4 separate regions of the Homo sapiens genome follow, and all the other regions are linked to region 4. The links are contacts of gene promoters, found by promoter capture Hi-C in human tissues and cell types (Jung and others, 2019). All regions are on one chromosome and are shown on one strand. The core of a region is centred on a gene start or on the middle of the fragment in contact, and the rest is flanking DNA. Distances in the headings are between cores, read along the strand shown. Region 1 holds the start of PTGES2 (prostaglandin E synthase 2). Region 2 holds the start of DNM1 (dynamin 1). Region 3 holds the start of C9orf50 (chromosome 9 open reading frame 50). Region 4 holds the start of TBC1D13 (TBC1 domain family member 13).

What was found. Contacts are between HindIII fragments. The study calls those that stand out against the background at their distance.
Region 1: the fragment with the promoter of PTGES2 here is called in contact with the fragment with the promoter of TBC1D13 in region 4 in 1 of the 25 tissues and cell types used here (small bowel).
Region 2: a contact is called between the fragment with the promoter of DNM1 here and the fragment with the promoter of TBC1D13 in region 4, in 2 of the 25 tissues and cell types used here (dorsolateral prefrontal cortex and liver).
Region 3: the fragment with the promoter of C9orf50 here is called in contact with the fragment with the promoter of TBC1D13 in region 4 in 2 of the 25 tissues and cell types used here (pancreas and stomach).

The regions. Positions count from the first base shown.
Region 1 is chr9:128,123,902-128,128,978 of GRCh38, forward strand. It overlaps PTGES2 (prostaglandin E synthase 2), which reads right to left and starts at 3,828. Exons shown (of 7, transcript NM_025072.7): 1 at 3,538-3,828; 2 at 1,343-1,540; 3 at 591-649. The coding sequence starts at 3,816. PTGES2-DT (PTGES2 divergent transcript) reads left to right here and starts at 4,628. Exons shown (of 1, transcript NR_024425.1): 1 at 4,628-5,077. RefSeq lists enhancers at 3,349-3,428, 4,069-4,188 and silencers at 3,569-3,858, 4,499-4,698, 4,729-4,838. The HindIII fragment of the contact is 32,314 bases long and covers 2,168-5,077 here.
Region 2 is chr9:128,201,981-128,207,347 of GRCh38, forward strand. It overlaps DNM1 (dynamin 1), which reads left to right and starts at 1,399. Exons shown (of 22, transcript NM_004408.4): 1 at 1,399-1,651. The coding sequence starts at 1,491. It also overlaps a transcript of CIZ1 not described here. RefSeq lists enhancers at 1,082-1,181, 2,613-3,185 and silencers at 1,242-1,461, 2,030-2,324. The HindIII fragment of the contact is 10,387 bases long and covers 1,312-5,367 here.
Region 3 is chr9:129,619,722-129,624,587 of GRCh38, forward strand. C9orf50 (chromosome 9 open reading frame 50) reads right to left here and starts at 1,380. Exons shown (of 7, transcript NM_199350.4): 1 at 346-1,380; 2 at 19-109. The coding sequence starts at 853. It also overlaps a transcript of NTMT1 not described here. RefSeq lists enhancers at 842-1,492, 4,363-4,502, 4,513-4,562. The HindIII fragment of the contact is 8,954 bases long and covers 1-2,928 here.
Region 4 is chr9:128,783,111-128,788,531 of GRCh38, forward strand. TBC1D13 (TBC1 domain family member 13) reads left to right here and starts at 4,143. Exons shown (of 12, transcript NM_018201.5): 1 at 4,143-4,266; 2 at 5,224-5,297. The coding sequence starts at 4,244. RefSeq lists an enhancer at 440-734, a cis regulatory region at 444-778 and a silencer at 3,791-4,280. The HindIII fragment of the contact is 9,895 bases long and covers 1-5,421 here.

The DNA.
Region 1 (5,077 bases), core at 2,578-5,077, 660 kb before region 4:
GTGGCCGACCAACCCCGCTGCCCCAGCCTCAGAGTGGAGCCAGGACCAACAAAGGCTCTCCGGACTCTTGCAGTAAGAGGGATTTGGAGTAGATGCCAGGGCTACCTCCCCAAGAGAGGGAGGTGTGGGGAGGACAAAGTAGGGGGCTTGGAGGAGGACGGCCACGGGCTACTCTGGAAAATCATTTTTTTTTTTTTTTGAGACGGAGTCTCGCTCTGTCACCCAGGCTGGAGTGCAGTGGCACGATCTTGGCTCACCGCAACCCTCTGCCTCCCGGGTTCAAGCGATTCTCCTGCCTCAGCCTCCTGAGTAGCTGGGACTACAGGCACTCGCCACTATGCCTGGCTAATTTTTGTATTTTTAGTAGAGATGGAGCTTCGCCATGTTGGCCAGGCTGGTCTGGAACTCCTGACCTCAGGTGATCTGCCTGCCTCGGCCTCCCAAAGTGCTGGGATTACAGGTGCGAGCCACTCTGTACTCTGGAAATCTAAGCAGCAGCTCCACGTGCTCCCAGGAGGGAACTCAGGGGAGGCCTCCCTGGAGGAAGCCACCAAAAGCAATGGCCACCTGGTCTCCGAGGGGCTCCTTACCCCGACACCAGGTAGGTCTTGAGGGCGCTGATGATGACAGAGGAGTCATTTAGTTGTTGCTGGAAGAGAAAAGGGTGGTTTAATCAGAGGTTGCAACCCAGCCGCTGGGAGTCACCAGGGGCTCTTTAACAAGACACTCTGGGCATTGTTTATCCATTCCTGGGGACATGCCCGGAGTCCTCCCCGCCCTGCCCTCAGGGCACCCATCCTAAGTAGGGAGACGTGGTTGTGGCCAATGGGGAGGAAGGTGTGGGAAAGCCGTGGGGTCTAAGCCCCAGCCCACTCACCCATTTGGCCTCCCAGGTAGAGGGGCAGGGTGGGTTCTGGAAGCTACATACTAGACCCCAAGCACTGTGCCAGGCATTTCATATCTGCCGTCCCTGCAAGCCAGAATATGGTCCCTTGTTGACTCATGAAGCAAGCAAGCGCAGAGAGGCTAAGTGACTTGCCCCAAGTCACACAGCTAGTGAGTGGGTGAATCACACCTCAAACCCAGATCGCTGATTTCAGAATCTATGTTGTTAAGCTGTGGTGTTCTGCCTCCCTGAGACCCAGCAGGTGTTTGGTTTTGGTACGGAAGGAGAGAGCCTACATTTATTGAGCATCTACCGTATGCAGCTACTTCCCCCATAGTCCTTACAGGCACAAGGATCACAAGTTCCTTCCCAGGCTGCAGAGCCAGGCCAGGCTAGGGGGCGCTCCAGGACAACCCAGGAAAGGAGGAAGGATGCAGGGGGTTCCCTGGGGCTCACCGAGCTTTCTCCTTCCTGGGCCACCAGGATGGGCACCTTTCTGTAGGAGGAGAACTTGATCTCAGCCCTGCGCACAGGGTTCACCTCCACCACCTGGTAGGGCAGGGCATGGAAGTCGAGGAAGGCTCGGACCTTGCTGCAGAAGGGACACGTCTTGTACTGGTACAGGGTCAGCTGCAGGCGGCTGGACAGGGAGAGCTGCGGGCAGCAGACGGAAAAGGCTTCTAGACCTGGCACCCCCAGGCCCAGGCCCTGCCCCCAAGGGTGTTTTCCAGAGGAGTCTTCTGAAATGACGCTAGAACATCGGGAAGAGGAACTAGAGATGGAAGGGGGCGGTAGGGGAAAGGGAGGCACTGGACAGCAGCCCAGGTTTAAGCCCCTGGCCAGCACGGTCCCCAAGCAGGAGTCCCACCCTTTGCTGCGAGGTTGTGTAGGAGGAATCTTCTAGTCTCTGTCCCATACTGGACAGACCCCTCTTTTCTCACTCCAGTCCCAAGGGGACACCAGACAGCCCCAGGGTATACACCCCACTCCCACAGACATGGAACAACTGTTTCAACTTGACTTGTTCACTCTCACTCCTCTAACCCCAGGGACCTCTGGGGGCAGAGCTGGGCTACCACCCAGGCTCATGTTCACCAGTGGGGTCTACCTCCAATCTCTTTCTTGTTTTTTTCTCTGGAGACAGGGTCTCACTCTGCCATCCAAGCTGGAGTGCAGTAGCTTGATCACAGCTCACTGCAGCCTTGAACTCCGGGGTTCATGTGATCCTCCAGCCAAAGTCTATCTCAAATATCCGAGGGGGAGGGTGGTATCTGAGCCAAGGCCTGCGTGTGGCAAGCTCCGCAGGAAAGCCCCCAGGGGAGCCTGCTGCACGTTCATGCCGGGAAGCCACAACTGTAGACCATCCCCCTGTGTTCAGAGGGGAAGCTGGACCGTGGAGGCAGGAAGGGAGACACAGAGTACTCCATGCCCTTTTTACCCACCTCTGTTCCCTCTGGTCCAGCAAATAAGCATCTGTGGGCGGGTGGTGGGAAGTCAAGTAATGAAGAGTTGCAAGGTGTGGGGTAGGTATAAAGTGTCTCAAGGCAGCTGGGCCACCACTTAGGGGGTCACCACTTGGGGGGGGCACCTTTCTACCTCTTCCTGTTTCAGCCTGGAGTCTAAGTCATCAGTTCCATAAAGGTACCACCACTACTACTAAATAAATACACAGCCTTAGGATTTGGGGGCAGTGGGGAGAGAGGATGATGAACGTTTGGAAAGTGAAAAAGGCTTTCCCTTTCCTGTGATCTCCCATCTCTTAATCAAAAAAGTCTTAAAACACGGTAGAGGCTGGGCTCCGTGGCTCACACCTGTAATCCCAGCACTTTGGGAGGCCGAGGCGGGTGGCTCATTTGAGGTCAGGAGTTCGAGACCAGCTTGGCCAACATGGTGAGACCCCCGTCTCTAGTAAAAATACAAAAATTAGCCGGGCTGGGTGGCAGGCGCCTGTAATCCCAGCTACTGGGGAGGCTGAGGCAGGAGAATTGCTTGAACCCAGGAGGCGGAGGTTGCAGTGAACCGAGATCGCGCCACTGCACTCCAGCCTGGGCAACAGAGCAAAAAAAAACTCCGTCTCAAAAAAAAAAAGTCTCCTTAAAACATGGTAAAGGCTGGGCGCAGTGGCTCACGCCTGTGATCCCAGCACTTTCAGAGGCCAAGGTGGGCGGATCACTTGAGGCCAGGAGTTCGAGACCAGCCTGGGCGACATGGTGAAACCCTATCTCTACAAAAAATACAAAAATTAGCAGGGCGCAGTGGGGTGAGCCTATAGTCCCAGCTACTCGGGAGGCTGAGGCAGGAGGATCCCTTCAACCTGGGAGGCAGAGGCTGCAGTGAGCCGCGATCGCACTCCAGCCTGGGCGATAATGCGAGACCCTGTCTCGAAAACATAAATAAACAAACCAAAAAAAAAAAAAAAAAAAAAACCACGGTAGAAGAACGATTTTATGAGAACTCGAACAATTCCAGGTAGTAGGCATCAGGAGTGCCCCTATTTTACACAAAAGAATACAGAGGGTTCGGAGACTTCAGACCAAGTCACTCGCCCAAGGTCACAAGCAGGCAGAGGCAACTCCTGACCCTGCGGGTTCCCAGGAGTCCCGAGTTCGGCGCTGATCAGCATCCCCATCCCCGGCCGGGCCAGGCCTTACCTGCGCGGCTGAGCGCTCTGCGTGGAGGTCCTGGGCGCGCAGGTGCCACCGCGCCGTGTGGTACAGCCCCAGGGCTCCCCCCAGGGCCAGCGCCGCAGCTCCCAGCAGCCGCGGGCTCCCCTTACGAGCTGCAGCCACGGGGCTCGGGCCGCCCGCCGCCCCCGCGAAGCCAGCCCGGCTCTGCGTGGGTAGCAGCGGCTGGGGGCGGCCTCCCAGCCTCCAGGCCAAGGCGCACCCACCAGGCCACAGCGCCCGCACCACCCGCGCAGCCGGGTCCATGTTCGCTCCGCCGGCGCCGCGGGCGGGCGCGCGAAACGAAGACGCCGAGGCACGCGCGGCGTTTAAAGGGCCAGGACTCTGGCGCCCCGCGGGTTGGCCGGGGTGAGGGCGACGCTAAGGGAACCCTCAGCGCTCTCGGGACTGGGCGTGTGCCCGGCGCCCAAGTTCGAAACGCCCGCCAGAGCCGCAGAGGCCCGCTCGGGAACGTTTGCAGACCGTTCCATGCTTCCGCCTCCAAAGGCTCTTGGGTAGTGACCCGGCCGACTGCAGGGGGGCGAACGTCTCCTCGCCCCACCTTGACCGCCTAAAGGGCGGCGTGGCCGTCTGTAACACGTACTTGCCCACCTCTCTTACGGGCGCCCATTCAAAACAACTCCAGCCCTTCCTAGAGTCAGTACAGGCGCCGCGACTTCCGGCCACTGAAAGCCCCGGAAACGACCCGACCCGGCACCAGGTGTTGCGGTTCTCTCTGCCCTCCCGCCTCATTGTCCGCTTCCTACTGTGACCCGAACCATAAAATTTTCCCGAACCCGAAGGGGCCTTGGAAACCACGTGTCTCTGATTTCGCCCACGCGAAGCGGCCGGCCCGCCGACCCCGAGATTTCCAGGGAGAGGATGGCAAAGTGGGGTGCCAGGCTGCTCGGTCCTTCTGCTGGGCTCCCCCGCCCTAGCTGAAGCCCGGAGCCTCCACCGCATAGGCGTCTCCGCGGACAGCCCCGGGATGGCCCCGCCCGGCGCCCGAGAGGGGGCGGGACTCGCAGAGTGGGCGGGGAGAGGGGCGGGGCGAGGGGGGAGCTCTGAGTCCCGGCTCTGCTGCTCCGCCGCGTCCCACTCTTCTCGCTCCGCTTTCGCCCCGCATCTTCCACCTTCCTTCCAGTCCTTGCGGCGACCGAGCCCGCAGTGTCAGTCCCCAGCGGGGACCTGAGTATGCCGGTGAAGACGAGAGCGGAAGGCGAGGACGACGGCTTCGGGGAAGCGGGTGACCCGAGGAGACTGCTGGAGCGACCTTGGCGTTTCCGGGGGTGCCTTCCCGGGAAGGGGAATCGGGATGTTGGCTTCGAAGGGACCGAAGGGCCCACCTCGACCCGCCCCGAGTGGGTTTGGAGTTGTAGGTGCTGTCTCGGATGCAGGGCGAGCACCCGCGAGCGGGTAACCAGTCCCGTGAGAGCTGCAGGTCCCCAGCCCCGTTTTACAGATAGGGAAACTGAGGCAGCTGCTGGGACACTCGCCCATATGGGTTTTGCTCCACCCACTTCCTTCA
Region 2 (5,367 bases), core at 149-2,648, 580 kb before region 4:
GCTTTCTTGCTCTGCAGGGCACGCCATCTAACAGGGCCATCGTTATTGCCCTATTTGCATATTGTCTGTCTTTTTCCACTGAATTGTCAGCCACATGTGGGTAAGGACTTTGTCCGTTTTGCTCACTGCTTTATCTCTGGAGTCTAGCATAGTACCTGGCTCAACAAATACGCATTAAATGGATGAGTAAGTGAACAGTCTCCAATTCACAGACCACTTTGTCAGCAGTGCCCCCACACTGTTCACAGCGCAGGGAAATGACTCACCGACTCCCCATGAGCACAGTGTAGGCTAGCCTTCCCTTCCTAGCCTCCACCGTGAATACTAATTAGGTTTCTTAAATGCAGAGATGGACGGCTGGGCTCAGGGCCCCATGGTCTGTCTGTGTGAAAGGGTACGCAGGGTAGGATTGTAGGAGCCCTGGATTTGAATCCCACTGTTTTACGCTGTTTTACCACCATCCTGATGGGTTGGAGCAAAGACTTCCACTCTCTAGGACAAGAGCTTCCAACTCTCCCAAGAAGGGCCCTCCAGGTGTCAGGGCCTCTGCACTTGCTGGTCATTCAGCCTGGCATGCTCTTCCCCTGATCTGCTTGCTGCTGGCTCCTTCTCATCATTTTGGTCTCTTCTCAAATGTCACTTCTGCAGAGAACACCCCCGACTCCTGCCAAGCCAATGTGAACTTTCCACACCCACAAAGATACCTTTTTTCACCCTGTTTATTTCCTCCATCCCTCTTACTATGAATTATTTTCATTTTTACTATTTCATTTATCTGCTTACTTATTTACTGTCTGTCTCCCCAGCTTGATGCAAGATCTATGAGGGCAGAGGCCTTGGCTGTCTTATTCGTTGCTGAATCTTCAGTGCCTAGGACAGGGCCTGGCTTCTAGCAGGTACCTAGTAAATATTTGTTGAATTCATGTTCCAACTTTCTCCTTCTAGAAACAAGGAAACTGAGGACCAAAGGCAGAAGAGGACATGTTGGAGATCAGAGTCAGGATCTAGGGATAGAAGCCAGCGAGATGAAGGGGAACTCATCTCGGAGTTCTGACCTCTGAGGTCAGGAGGCTGTGACCTCAGAGGAAGCCCATCTGCTCTCCAGGCCTGTTTCCTCATCGGTAAGATGGAGTGAAACATCCAGACCACTCTCCAAGAGGCCTGGTACTAGGAGTGAGACCCAACCCATTGACAAATATATTCTGCGCAGCATCCGCGCACCCCAGACACTGCTAAAGCACCCCAAAAGCCGCAGAAGGTGAAAACTACGACACCCATGATGCCCCGGACGGCGCCTGCGCACGGCGGCCGGCCCGCAGCGCCGCGGGCTCCCCCTAGCGGCGTCCGGGAGCGGTGCTCGCTCCGATCCCCGAGGGGCGGGGGCCCCGCGGCGCAGGCAGTCTGGGCGCGCGGCTGCAGCGGCGGAGCCGGAGTCGGAGCCGGGAGCGCTAGCGGCAGCCGGATCGCAGCCTGCGGGGCCCGCCGCAGCCATGGGCAACCGCGGCATGGAAGATCTCATCCCGCTGGTCAACCGGCTGCAAGACGCCTTCTCTGCCATCGGCCAGAACGCGGACCTCGACCTGCCGCAGATCGCTGTGGTGGGCGGCCAGAGCGCCGGCAAGAGCTCGGTGCTCGAGAATTTCGTAGGCAGGTAGGCGCGGCGCGCCCCCAGGCGCCGACCCCCGACCCCCGGGATCCCTGGAGTCCCCGCCCGGGGCACTGACGGCGCGGCGACCTCGCAGCCCCCGACGCTGCACCCGCGGCCGGCGCGCCCCCCACCCCCAGCCGGAGCGAGGAGGCCCTCCCCCCACCACGAGAGCCCCTCGGGGCAGCAGCGCCCCCCGCTAGTCTGCAAACGTCGTCAAGCCTCCGGCTACCGAATCACGCCCCCTCCTCCGTCCCATCCTTTAGGGCAGACAACGCTCTGCCAGAAGCCCCGGGCAAAGAGCTGCCCCCCGCCCCCAACATGGGCATGGAGAGAGCCCGCATTACTCAGCGTCTCCGTTGGGCTCCGGGAGTCCCTTGGAGCGGGCAGCACCCGGGGGCAGCGTCCCCCACACCGGGCTCAATGGGGGACATCCCCCTACCCCCATGGGAATTCCTGGGCCGTGGCAGAGGTCAGCCCCCGCATCCCAGTCCCTAGAAGAGGACGTAGTCCCGCGGGCATCGAGGACCGGGCACGGCCTCCCGCCAGCACACACACACCTCTGCGGCTCCCGCCGCCATCCGTGCGCAGCGCGGCGAGGGGGGAGGCGCGGGCTGCAGGATGAGGAAGGGAAGAGGGGAGGAGAAACCACTTCTTATCCTTTTCTGAGCAGCCGGCCCCTTGCTTCGCCACGGCCCCTGGGTGGGGGGCGCCTGTCAGTGTCGCCCTCCCCTTGGCCTGGCCAGAGGAATCGTGTTGGAGGGAGAGGCGGCAGAGGGCAGAGATGACTAAGACAGGGATGGCGGGAGGGGGGAGCCATTTGCAGAACCTAATCCCCCTCCCGCCTCTGATCCCACAAGGCGCTGAGAGGCCTAGGTGGCGGAGAGAGGAACAACCGCAAAGACAAAGGGTCGTGGGTTTAGCGGGGCAGGCAGGGTCGTGACCCGCAGGCTCCCCACAAACCCCCAAAGGGAGGCAGAAATAGTTTTTCTGGTGCTGAGGAGAGAGAAGAAAGATAGGAGCTCTCCAGGTACTGGAGGTGGGTTGGGGGGCTGGGCAGACTGGGGGATGAAGTGAGAGAGTTTACACTGACCCCGTCTTTCATCTCCCCCCCATCTTCTTCAGAAACTCTTGCTTTCTTCCAATGACCTTCAGGGCCAAAAAAGTGACTGGCACATGGGAGAGGGAGGCAGGGGCCCTTGTCCGCAGAGGTACAGCAGTTCTGTCCAAGCCAGGTTCTGCTGCAAAACCTCAGGCAAGTCACTTGCCCTCTCTGAGCCTCAGTGTCCCCATCTCTAACATGGACAGTGGGACTGGGTGGTTGTTCCTGCCCCTCAAATGTCCTGGGAAACCCATGCCAGCCCTAGAGGTGAGAGGGAGAGGGCCTGACTGGAGCCATGTGTGTGTGGGACGTTGGAAGGCCACCGTGGGGGCGGCCGTGCCCATCTGGTCAGCAGAGGGGAAGGCATCTGTCTCTCCAATGGCTCCTGCAGAGCCCCCCTTCTGATCACATGACCCCCGGAGCTGCAGAGACACAGGCAAGAGACACACCACGGGCCCCTTCCCCAAGGGCCAGCAGTCAGGGATATCCAGCAGTTTAGAATGGAGAAACCATATTCCTACCTCTCGTCCTTTGAATGTTGGCTGAACTCCTGCCCCATGCCAGGCTGCGTGCTTCAGGCTTGGGGTAGGGAGGGGACCAACTGGTGATTTCAGCCCGCATCTACTGAGCCCATCCCATGCATCCCCCTATGCTGAGTCCTTCATAGGCTCACAGGAGCTCCCAAGAGGCAGGTACCATGATGCCCATCCTACAGATGAGGAAACTGAGACCCTGGAGGTTAGATGCCTTGCCCAAGGTCACACATTCAGAAAGGGCAGCAGCTGTTAGACTCCAAAGCCCAATTCCTAATCTCGACGCTGCACATCCTCTGACAGCCGGGTCCTGCACCAGGCACAGGGACGTGTGGGTGGGTGGGCCTCCATTTCCCCATCTGCGGAATGGAAACGCTGACAGCCGCTGCCCTGCCTTCCTGAGAAGGTGACTGTGGGCTCCACCGAGTTCATGGGTGGAAAGGTGCTTTTGTAAACATGCGGGAGGGGGCGCTGATAGCCAATTAGGCTTGGGGACCTGCATGCCCAGCCCCTGCCTTCCTGGAGCCCATGACGCAGGGGCCATCCCTGACCACAGCAGATTTCATCGAGTACTTGCTTGTTGAGTGGTGGAGCAAGGTTTGGACCGTGCCCCAGGAGGCCTGGGCCCTCTGGCTGCCCTCTCCACCCCAATGCCCTTGGCCGTTGTCCCCACAGGAGGATGTGCAGGGTGTCCAGATGCAGGCCCAGGGCAGGGGAGGGGGCTTAGGTTGATGTGAAGGAGTAGGCAGAAAAGCATTCATGATCCTCTGAAAGCTAGTGAGAAGGCCAGGGAAACTGAGGCTCAGTGGGTTCCACTGTCTCAGCCTGCCAGCTCCCTCAAGGGCTCCTGACCTCTCCAACAGGGCTCAGTCCCCAGACTGGTGAGCATAGTAACAGCCATTCTGTCTCCTGGGGCTTCCCAGGAGCCAATCCCCAACAGAAAATGCTTCACAGGAAAATGCATCAGGGCTGCCCCAGGCCCACCCGGGCTTCTGGGTGCTCAGGAGGATCCTGCTGTCAACTCTGCAATGGAGGTAGCCTTGCAGCTGCCTGGGATGCTGCTAGAACTTGTCTGGGTCTATACTATTTCTTCACCCCCTTCCCTTTTACAGAAGGGAAAACTGAGGCCAATTCATTCAGTCATTTAGCAAACATTTGTGGAGGGTGCACGATGTCTCAGCACTGGGGATTCTATGGTGGAAAAGACCAAGACTCTGCACTGCAGAGGGAGAAACTCAGAAGACAACTGGAAAATGTGGTGAACGTCAGGGAGGGGAGTGGGGCTGCTCTCCCCAGGGAGGTCAGAGGTCTCCAGGAGGAGGTGGCATCTGAGATGAGAACCAAGGGATGAGAAGCTGTGTAACTTGCCAGGGGCGGGAGAGTTCCAGGCCAAGGGAAAGGTGCAAAGGCCCCGGGGTAGCAAAGAATTTGGTGCCTTTGAAGAACAGAAAGGAGACCCTGTAGCTGGTATTCAGCTAGCAAGGGGGAGACAGGACCTGAGAGATAGGCAGGGGCTAGATCTACAAAGCCCTTAGGCCATGAGGAGTGAGGAGTTTGGGTTTATTTTCTCTCTTGTGGGAAGCTTTTTAGTAGTGGAGTGATGAGCTAATTCTAGCAAGGGTGTGACTTGGGGAGCGGGTGAGGGAAAAGGCAGGAGACTGGTGGGGAGGCTGCTGCAGTGGGCAGGGGGTAGTGGGGGGCCTGGACAAGGGCTTCAGCTGCAACCAGAAGGAGAATGGTGGGTGGGTTTCAGGATATATTTTAGAGGAAGTCCTGCTGGAGGATGAATGTGGAGGGTGAGGAAAGAGGAATCAATGATGACTTCTGGGACTTTGACCTGAGCTCCTGGGTGGGTGTTGGTGCCATTAACAGAGTCGGGAAGAGTAAGGAGGAGCAGACTGGGGGGATGGGGGAAGACCAGGGTTTGGTTCTGAACATATTGAGCCTGAGATGCCTGTTAGACTTCTAAGTGGAAGATGTCAGCTGGCAGTTTGGTGATGCAAGTTGAGAGCTCAGGGGGAAGACGGGCTGGAAGTAAAAATTTGGAAGTCGTTGGTGTAGAGATGGGATTTAAACCCGAGAGTAGA
Region 3 (4,866 bases), core at 130-2,629, 830 kb after region 4:
AAGCGGACTGACGCTTACCACAGGTCTGGGAGGAATGAACAGTTGGGACACCGCGGAGACCCTGGGCAGTGCTCTAATACACCCCTTTGATGTTGCGGTGCTGGGGATGCTGGAGCCAGGAGGAAACAGTTGTGAGCCTTGGCTGGGGGACGGTCCTTTCTAGTCATGTGGCCTCGGGGTGATGGCAGACCAGCCCTCAAGGACGGGTTGCGAGGGCTCTGAGATACTCAGCTAACATTAGCATCCTTCTAGCCTGGGTGGTGGGGTGGTGGGTGCGGGGACACAAGGGACCACCCCCCACCGGAAATGACTCGGGCCCGCCCCCCGGGCCCCGCGGGGCCTCACTCAGTGGCTCCGGCTCCTCGGCGCACTTCTCCTGGAGCTGGTGCAGGAACTCACGGAACCTGCTGGGGAGGAGCTCTCCTAGGAAGGCGCCCAAGAAGTCGGGGTCCTCCCTGGCCACGCGCCTCCGGGGGCGCTCGCGCTCTCCAGGCCCTGGCTGCCTGGGCGCCGATTCCCGGGACGCGCCGGCCGACAGCAGGGGAGGCGGCAGCAGGGACCGCAGCAGCCCCCGCTTCCGCACGGCCCGCCGGGTCGCGGTGAGCAAGGCGGGCAGGCGCGGCGGGAGGCGTCCGACGCCCACCCCGGGCTTGGCGTCCCCTTCCGGCCACCACGCGGCGCCGCCCCCCGGGATCCTCCAGTCCCCGGAGCCCCGCGCGCCCAGAGCCGCTCGGAGCGCGGGCGGGGTCAGCTTGGGCAGCCGCGGGTCGCTGCTGCGTCGGAAGTCTCCGTCGCCAGGGAGCCCCTTGGGCGCCAGGTCCTGGGCCCCTGGGCGAAGTCGACGCCAGAACATGCTTGGCCCCGCACTCAGCTCACCGCACCCTCAGCGCGCGTGGGTGGGGGGCGCCGGCTGAGGTGGGGAGGGCATAGTCCAGCCCCAGGCCATAGTGCCCCGGGCGGGGCAGCGCGGTGCGGGGTGAACGCCACCGGCCCGGCGGACAGCGAGTGGCTTCAGGCGAGAGCTCCCAGAGCCTCTGTTTCCTCACCTGAAAAATGGTGACAGCAAGAGTAGCCAACTTTGGGGGTTGCTGTGACGTTTAAATGAGCAAGTACATGCCAGTCTTAGAACAGCAAGCTCGGTACAGTGCCAGGCACGCTGGCCAAGCTTACACATAGACTAGCTGCCATTCTTAGTATTTCAAAGTTATTATTATTTAGGATTTAGTCCCAGCTCCACCACTTATTAGCTTTGTAACCTTGGCCAAGCCAATTAACTTCCCTCTGCCTTCCCTGGGGGCTCTGGTCTGCAGAATGGGGATAATAGCAGCACCTGCCTCTCTGCAGCCGTGAAACGGCATCACCGCATCACCGCTGGTAGAGAGAGCACTTAGCCTGCCTTGCAGTGTTCAAAGCGTGGAACTGTTACCGTCATTAGCGCTCTACTGGGAATTAGGAAACCTGGAACCAGCTTGAGGGAAGAGAGACCTGACCAGCAGCCTCCCAGCCCTGGTGCTGCCTCAGAGACCCCTGGGTGGGGAGCCTGTTGAAAATACAGATGACTTACCCCCAGCCCCCATTCTGATTCAGTACGTCTCTGCTGGAGCCAAGACAGTTTGTTGTTCTTGTTGTTGTTGTTAAAGAGATGGGGTCTTGCTAAGACGGGGTCCTGCTGTCACCCAGGCTGGAGTGCAATGGCACCATCATAGCTCACTGCAGCCTCAAATTCTTGGGCTCAAGTGATCCTCCTGCCTCAGCCTCCTGAGTAGCTGGGACTACAGGCACACACCACCACAGTTGGCTAATTTTTGTATATTTTGTAGAAATGGGGTAGAATTTTTTTGTATTTATGTTGCACGGGCTGGTCTTGAACTCCTGGGCTCAAGTGATCCACTTGCCTTGGCCTCCCAAAGTGCTGGGATCACAGGCGTGAGTCCCCACTTCTGGCCAAGACACAGACTTTTAACAAACTCCCCCTTTGGGAGGCAGAGCCCCAGTCTTACTCCCAGCTCTGACACTGAGGGGTTTCTAAGCCTGCTTCCTCCCAACCACACCCCACTCCCAGATTGTTGTCAGCTCTGAGCTGACTCCTGGGCAGTGTCACACTCACCCTGGTGGGCTTCTGGGTGGGGCCCTAGAAGGTCCTGTGAGTTTAGAGCTCTCTACAGGCAGGCTGTAGAGCCCATCATCCCTGCCTGGTGCCTCTCCCAGCCCCTCCCGGCTGCCTCTGGGCCGCTTCAGGGTCATTGTGATCCGCCCCTCACCCCTGGGCATCTGAGTAGCAGTGGGCACTGAGGCCTGGGGACTAAGGGTGGGGCTATTGTGCCCTGGATGCCCTGGCCGCAGCCACCTGGGGCACTGGGACTCTGACCAGGGCAGCCAGGCCTACCCTTTCCAGATCTGGGAGGCTTAGGCTGGGTGGCTCTGGAAGTAGAACTTCCACCCCAAGACCAGGCAGTCAGAATACAATGGACCTAGAAATGAACAGACCCTGCGGGGCACGGTGTCTCACGCCTGTAATCCCAGCACTTTGGGAGGCCGAGGCGGGCGGATCACCTGAGGTCAGAAGTTCAATACCAGCCTGGCCAACATGGTGAAACCTCGTCTCTACAAAAAATACCAAAATTTGCCATGCATGGTGTTGTGCACCTATAATCCCAGCTACTTGGGAGGCTGAGACAGGAGAATCGCTTGACCCTGGGAGGCGGAGGTTGCAGTGAGCTGAGATCATGCCACTGCACTCCAGCCTGGGTGACAAAGCGAGACTCCATCTCAAAAATAATAATAATAATAATCCAAGGTCTGGGTGCTAGGTGTGCTTCTTGCTATTGAGATGTCATTTCTTTCAGGCAGTCTCAGCTGACAAAGAAATGTGTGTGTATACTATGAAACACACACATATCTATAAATATTTCTATAGGTAACCATCTGTACTTATATTAAGCTAAACATGAGCTCATGCTGACATCTCCAACTCTAATCCGTTACACAGATCATTTGAGACTCTGTCTCACAAAAAAAAAAGAGGCCAGGTTCCAGTGGCTCATACCTGTAATCCTAACACTTTGGGAGACCGAGGCAGGTGGATTGCCTGAGCTCAGGAGTTCGCAATCAGCCTGGGCCACATGGTGAAACCCCGTCTCTACTAAAATACAAAAAAATTAGCCGGGCGTGACAGCGTGTGCCTGTAGTCCCAGCTACTTGGGGGGCTGAGGTAGGAGAATTGCTTGAACCCGGGAGGCGGAGGTTGCAGTGAGCCGAGATCACGCCACTGCACTCCAGCCTGGGCAACAGAGTGAGACTCCATCTCCATAAAAAAAAAAAGAAAGAAAGAGCCGGGCACGGTGGCTCACGCCTGTAATCCCAGCACTTTGAGAGGACAAGGCGGGTGGATCATGAGGTCAGGAGATCGAGACCATCCTGGCTAACACGGTGAAACCCTGTCTCTACTAAAAATACAAAAAATTAGCTGGTTGTGGTGACGGGTACCTGTAATCCCAGCTACGCGGGAGGCTGAGGCAGGAGAATGGCGTGAACCCAGGAGGCGGAGCTTGCAGTGAGCGGAGATCGCGCCACTGCACTCCAGCCTGGGCGACAGAGCAAGATTCCATCTCAAAAAAAAAAAAAGAAGGAAGGAAGGAAGGAAGGAAGAAAAGAAATTAACAGACCCACTTTCAAGTCCATGGTCTGCTGTTTTGCTGTGTGATCCTGGAGAAGTGTCTTCTTTCTCAGGACTCCCTGGGCCTTATCTCTGAGTCTTGGCTGGGAGAGGGCCGAGAGGAAGCTCATAGTATTGTGAAGCTGGGGTGGGAGACAGAGGTCATTTACATGAGTATTTCACTGGCGTGGCATAGTTTCATAATTTGAAAATGAAGAAACGACTTTGTAATTCAAATAACAGAGTGACTCACTAGAGAACGCGTCGCCAAAGATATATTCTATTTTCTGTCAATGCTTCTCACCAGGGATGGAGGGACATACTTTCCTGGAGAGCTACAATATTGAGTGGGGGAGGGAGATATTTTTGTATTTATTTAAAGGGTATGTGTCTTTTTTAATGGCTGCGAAACACCAGATTAACTAGACGGTTTCTTTTTTTCTTTTCTTTTCTTTTTTTTTTTTTTGGAGACGGAGTCGCGATCTCAGCTCACTGCAAGCTCCGCATCCTGGGTTCACCCCATTCTCCTGCCTCAGCCTCCCGAGTAGCTGGGATTACAGGTGCCCACCACCACGCCCGGCTAATTTTTTTGTATTTTTAGTAGAGACGGGGTTTCACCGTGTTAGCCAGGATGGTCTCGATCTCCTGCCCTTGTGATCCACCTGCCTCGGCCTCCCAAAGTGCTGAGATTACAGGCGTGAGCCACTGCGCCTGGCCTAACTAGATGGTTTCTAAGGAGCCCTCCAGCCCTTGCACTCTGCAAATATTTATCAAGGAACTACTATGTGCTAGGCTTGGGAATTCAGAGATGCCAGAGGCTTTGAGGTCAGGGAGCCGGCCAGTCCTGGGAAGGCCTTGGAGCGTGGCTGTGGGGAAGGGGCTTGCTCTTCTGTTGACAGGAAATAAGACAGGGCTGGATTTTTAGGCATACAGAGAGCTTGGATCAGAGCTGCCCCCTGGCGGAGGATTCCGGACACCCCCACCGATTGAAATTGCCCAGGATCAATCCCTTTGCTTAAAGACACAGAAAATGAAGCTTGGGAGAGGGGCTCAGACCAGGGGTAGCAGTTGTGACCTAGAATAGTCTAGAGGGTATGCCAAATAAGATGCACATACACACATCCTGCGGACTCAATGCAGAAGGGGCTTTTTAGCATCCCCTTTCTACCGTAGCTTTCAACACATTTAGAGCAAACACACTTTAAGCACCT
Region 4 (5,421 bases), core at 2,893-5,392:
CCTTTTGTGACTGGCTGTGATACTTAGCATAATGTCTTCACGGTTCATCATGTTGTAGCATGTAAAAAAGCCATGATATGTATATACAACATTTTGTTTATCCATTCATCTGTTGATCGTTACATGAAGTGTGTCCACGTTTTGGCTATTGGGAATAGTGCTGCAATTGGCATACAACTATCTGTTCCTGCTTTCTCTCTCTCTCTCTCTCTCTCTCTTTTTTTTTTTTCTCACTCTGTCACCCAGGCTGGAGTGCAGTGGATTGATCATCATGGCTCACTGCAGCCTCCAACCTCCCAGGCTCAAGTGATCCTCCCACCTTAGCCTCCTGAGTAGCTGGGACACCAGGTGTGTGCCACCATGCCTGGATAAATTTTAAGATTTTTTACAGAGACGGGGGTCTCATTATGTTGCCCAGGCTGGTCTGGAATTCCTGCCTCAAGCAATCCTCCTGCCTTGGCCTCCCAGAGTGCTGCGATTACAAGCAAGAGCCACTGCACCTGGCCCTGTCCATGCTTTCAATGCCTAGGAATGGAAGTGCTGAGTCATAGGGTAATTCTATGTTTAGCTTTTTGAGGAACTGTCATACTATTTTCCATAGCAGCTGCACCATTTTACATTCCCTCCAGCACATGTGTGGGTTCCTATCTCTCCACATCCTTGTCAGCAATTATAACTGTCTCTTTTTTTTTTTTTTTCTTTTTTTTTTAAGACAGGGTCTCACTCTGTTGCCTAGCCTGGAGTGCAGTGGCATGATCTCGGCTCACTGCAATCTCTGCACTCCAGCCTGGGGACAGAACAAGACCTCATCCTGGGGAGGGGGGGAAAAATGTGGTGGTGGGGATTTAAAAATGTACAATAGGCCAGGCGTGGAGCCTTAAGCCTGTAATCTCTGCACTTTGGGAGGCCGAGGACAACAGATCACGAGGTCAGGAGATCAAGACCATCCTGGCTAACATCGTGAAACCCCGTCTGTACTAAAAATACAAAAACTAGCCGGGTGTGGTAGCAGGCACCTGTAATCCCAGCTACTTAGGAGGCTGAGGCAGGAGAAGCACTTTAACCCGGGAGGCGGAGGTTGCAGTGAGCCGAGATTGCGCCACTGCACTCTAGCCTGGTGACAGAGTAAGACTCCGTATCAAAAAAAAAAAAAAAAAAAGTACAATAGGCTTGGCATGGTGATGCACGCCTGTAATCCCAACACTTTGGGAGCCCGAGGTGGGTAGATCACCTGATGTCAGGAGTTCGAGACCAGCCTGGCCAACATGGTGAAACCCCGTCTCTGCTAAAATACAAAAATTAGCCAGGTGTGGTGGTGGGCGCCTGTAATCTCAGCTACTTGGGAGGCTGAGGCAGGATAATTGCTGGAGGCAGAGGTTGCTGTGAGCCAAGATTGCGCCATTGCACTCCAGCCCAGCCAAGAACAGAGAGACTGTCTCAAAAAAAAAAAAAAAAAAAAAGTACAATAAAGAACGGGCAATAGGGACAGGCATGGTGGCTCATGACTGTCATCTCAGCACTTTGGGAGGCAAAGGTGGGCAGATCGCCTGAGGTCAGGAGTTCAAGACCAGCCTGGCCAACATGGAGAAACCCGTCTCTACTAAAACTACAAAAATTAGCCAGGCATACTGGCGCGCGCCTATAATCCCAGCTACTTGGGAGGCTGAGGTAGGAGAATTGCTTGAACTCAGGAGGCGGAGGTTGTGGTGAGTGGAGATTGCACCACTGCACTCCAGCCTGGGCAACAGAGCCAGACTCCATCTCAAAAAAAAAAAAAAATTAGAAGGCCAGGTGCTGCCAGGCATGGTATCTCACGCCTGTAATCCCAGGATTTTGGGAGGCCGAGGAGGGAGAATAACCTGAGGTCAGGAGTTTGAGGCCAGCCTGGCCAACATGATGAAAACCCGTCTCTACTAAAAATACAAAATTTTTTTTAAATCAAAAAATATAAAAATTAGCCAGGCAGGGTGGCATGAACCTTTAATCCTAGCTACTCGGGAGGCTGAGGCAGAAGAATCGCTTGAACCCGGGAGGCAGAGGTTGCCGTGAGCTGGAGATCACCCCATTGCACTCCAGCCTCGGCAACAAGAGTGAGATTCCGTCTCAAGAAAAAAAAAAAAGAAGGCCAGGCATGGTAGCTCATGCCTGTAATCCCAGCACTTTGGGAGGCCTGAGGTGGGCAGACACTTGAGGTCAGGAGTTTGAGACCAGCCTGGCCAACATGATGAAACCCTATCTCTACCTCAAAATACAAAAATCAGCTGGGCATGGTGGCATGCGCCTGTAGTCCCAGCTACTCAGTAGGCAGAGGTTGCAGTGAACTGAGATTGCGCCACTGCACTCCAGCCTGGGGTGACAGAGTGAGACCATGTCTCAAAAAAAAGAAAGAAGAGTATATATGCATAGCAAACGTGTGAAGAGATGCTCAACATCATATGTCTTTAGGGAAATGCATGTTAAAGCAGGAGATACCACTTCACATCTACTAGAATGTCTAAGATTAAAAAGACTGACCACATCAAGTATTGGTGAGGACGTGGTACAACAGCAACTCTCATATACTGCTGGGGTAGGTGTTAAATAATACAACCATTTTGGAAAATATTTAAGCACTTTCTTTTCTTTTTCTTTTTCTTTTTTTTTTTTTGAGATAGAGTGTCGCTCTTTCGCCCAGGCTGGAGTGCAGTCGTGCAATCTCCACTCACTGCAAGCTCTGCCTCCCAGGTTCATGCCATTCTCCTGCCTCAGCCTCCCGAGTAGCTGGGACTACAGGCACCCACCACCACGCCCGGCTAATTTTTTTCTTTGTATTTTTTAGTAGAGATGGGGTTTCACCGTGTTAGACAGGATGGTCTCGATCTCCTGACCTCATGATCCGCCCTCCTTGGCCTCCCAAAGTGCTGGGATTACAGGCGTGAGCCACCGCGCCTGGCTAGCTGTTTCTTTCTTTTTTTTTTTTTCTCAAGAAAAAGGTGTTAAATAATACAACCATTTCGGAAAATCTTTAAGCAGTTTCTTTTCTTTTCTTTTCTTTTTTTTTTTTTTTTGACAGGGTCTTGCGTTTTTGCCCAGGTTGGAGTGCGGTGGCGCTATTGGAGTGCGGTGGCACTATCTCGGCTCACTGCAAGCTCCGCCTCCCGGGTTCAAGCAATTCTCCTGCCTCAGCTTCCTGAGTAGCTGGGATTACAGTTGTGCGTCACCACACCCGGCTAATTTTTGTATTTTTAGTAGAGACGAGGTTTCACCATGTTGGTTAGGCTGTTCTCAAATTCCTGACCTGGTGATCTGCCCGCTTCAGCCTCCCAAAGTGCTGGGATTACAGGCGTGAGCCACCACGCCCGGCCTACTCAACTAATTTTTACATCTTTTGTAAAGAAGGTAATCTCGAGGAGCTGGGATTACAGGCGCCTGCCACCACGCCCGGCTAATTTTTGCATTTTTGGTAGAGACGGGGTTTCACCGTGTTGGCCAGAGTGGTCTCCAACTCCTGACCTCAAGTGGTCTGCCTGCCTCGTCCTCCCAAAGCACTGGAATTTACAGGGATGAGCCACCGCGCCCGGTCCAGCCTATTTTTCTTAAGATATCATTTGTGTTTTTTTCTTTCTTCCTAACTTACATTTTATAGGGTTTGCTGGTATAGTTTTTATAAAAAAAAAAAAAGTTGGGCCGCGCACGGCGGTTCATGCGAGTCCCTGCTATACAGGCCTTGAGGATTCTGCAGAGACCAAGATAAGCTGGGGGGCCTGAACAGTTTAGCAGGGGAGGCCGAGACTCCTGTAACAATCATGCAGTAGTTAATTACAGGGGGGTGAGTGCAGGGAAGACGACAGGGTGACAGGTATATTGCGTAAGTAGACACTGAGGCCCAGGGAAGCGCAAGGAATAGTCCAGAGACACACAGTCTGCGCTGTCACCGGCGGGTTCTCAAATTTGGCCCGCAGGGTCGGCGGCGCTGGGGCTCCCGGCCCGCGATTGCCACGCCCACCAGACCCGAGGTTGCCCCGCTCAACCCGGCCGGCCGTAGCCGCCAGTACCGTGTGGAAGCGTGAGAGTCGAGGGGTGGCACGTGACTGGCGGGGCGGGGCGGGGCTGAGGCGGTGGAACGCGCAGGCTAGTGGCTGTGTTTCCCGCCGGAGGCTTTTGCGCAGAGCCCCGCGTCCCTGGGGGGCGGCGGCGGCGGCGGCAGCGCAGGCGGCAGAGGCGCAGGCGGCGGAGGCGGCTGGGGGGTCCGGAAGTCAACACCATGTCAAGTCTGCACAAGAGCCGGTAAGGGGCCATGGGGCCTGACCCGGCTGGGCCACTCCTGGCCAGGCTGCCCCTTCTGCCCCTCAGAAGGGGGAAGCGCGGGTGTGGCCAGGAATCGGCAGACCCCCTCGGCAGAGGGTCTCGAGCGTCCACCTTCTAACCTCATTGCCTGTGGGCTGCAGGAACGACGGAGGGGCGGCCCTTCTCCTGCCCCTGATGTCACTGCTTCTGCCTCCCTCATCCTGGACCCCTGGTGTCCCCCTTCCCCTGAGTCTTCCTCATCCAGACCCCCATGCCCCGCCCCCGTGCCTTTCCCCCTTTTGATCCCCCTGCTCCCGTACTCTCTCCAAGTGCACCCTGTCCCCCGTGCCTTTTTCTTACTAGGATTGCTAGAGAACTTGCATTCTCCAGTCTGGCCCCTCCCCCAGGCCAGATCCTGCAGCATTGGCTGAATTTTGCTCACTCTTCAGTTTTCCTTCAGGACGTGTTTTTTAAACCCTTTGTCCTTGCCTTCTGGCAGGCCCAGAGGTCTTGTAATGGTTATATTTGTGAGCATGGTCCATTGTCTGCATATCAAATTACTCCTGGTTCCTGAGGTCCAAGGAGTTCAGTTGGTGGCTGTGCGTGGACCCGGCCTGGCCGGCAGGAAGTGCCCAGTAAATGTCAGCTCACTAAGTATTAGAATGTTGGAATATGTCTAATTTTATGGTCCTCATTTGGGAACTTCTAGACAAGAATATCTCTCAAGTTTCTTCCCTGGCATTCTGTGTTTCTGGTTGTAGAGGAAGAAGTGAAATATAGTTTTGTTGTTCTCCAAAGCTGTCTTTGGTGAGGACCTTGACTAAGCTGTGTGATTTTTATGTCCTAAAGGGGAGAGAGGCACAGGTTGGAAACTGGCAGTGTGAGGGAGCTGAGGGCTGTGGGTCTCACTGAGCCGATATCAGCATGCTTCATTTGCCGCCCTATCTCCCCTTCCAGAATTGCAGATTTCCAGGATGTCCTGAAGGAGCCCTCAATTGCATTGGAAAAGCTGCGGGAACTCAGCTTTAGTGGTAAGAAGCCATTCTGTATTTTCACGGTTTCCCTACAGCAGCCCTGTGGCTAGAATACAGGGGGAGGCCACACCTGGTCAGCTCTGGGGCCCAGCTGCTGGGGGCTGGGGCCTTGGAAGGAAAT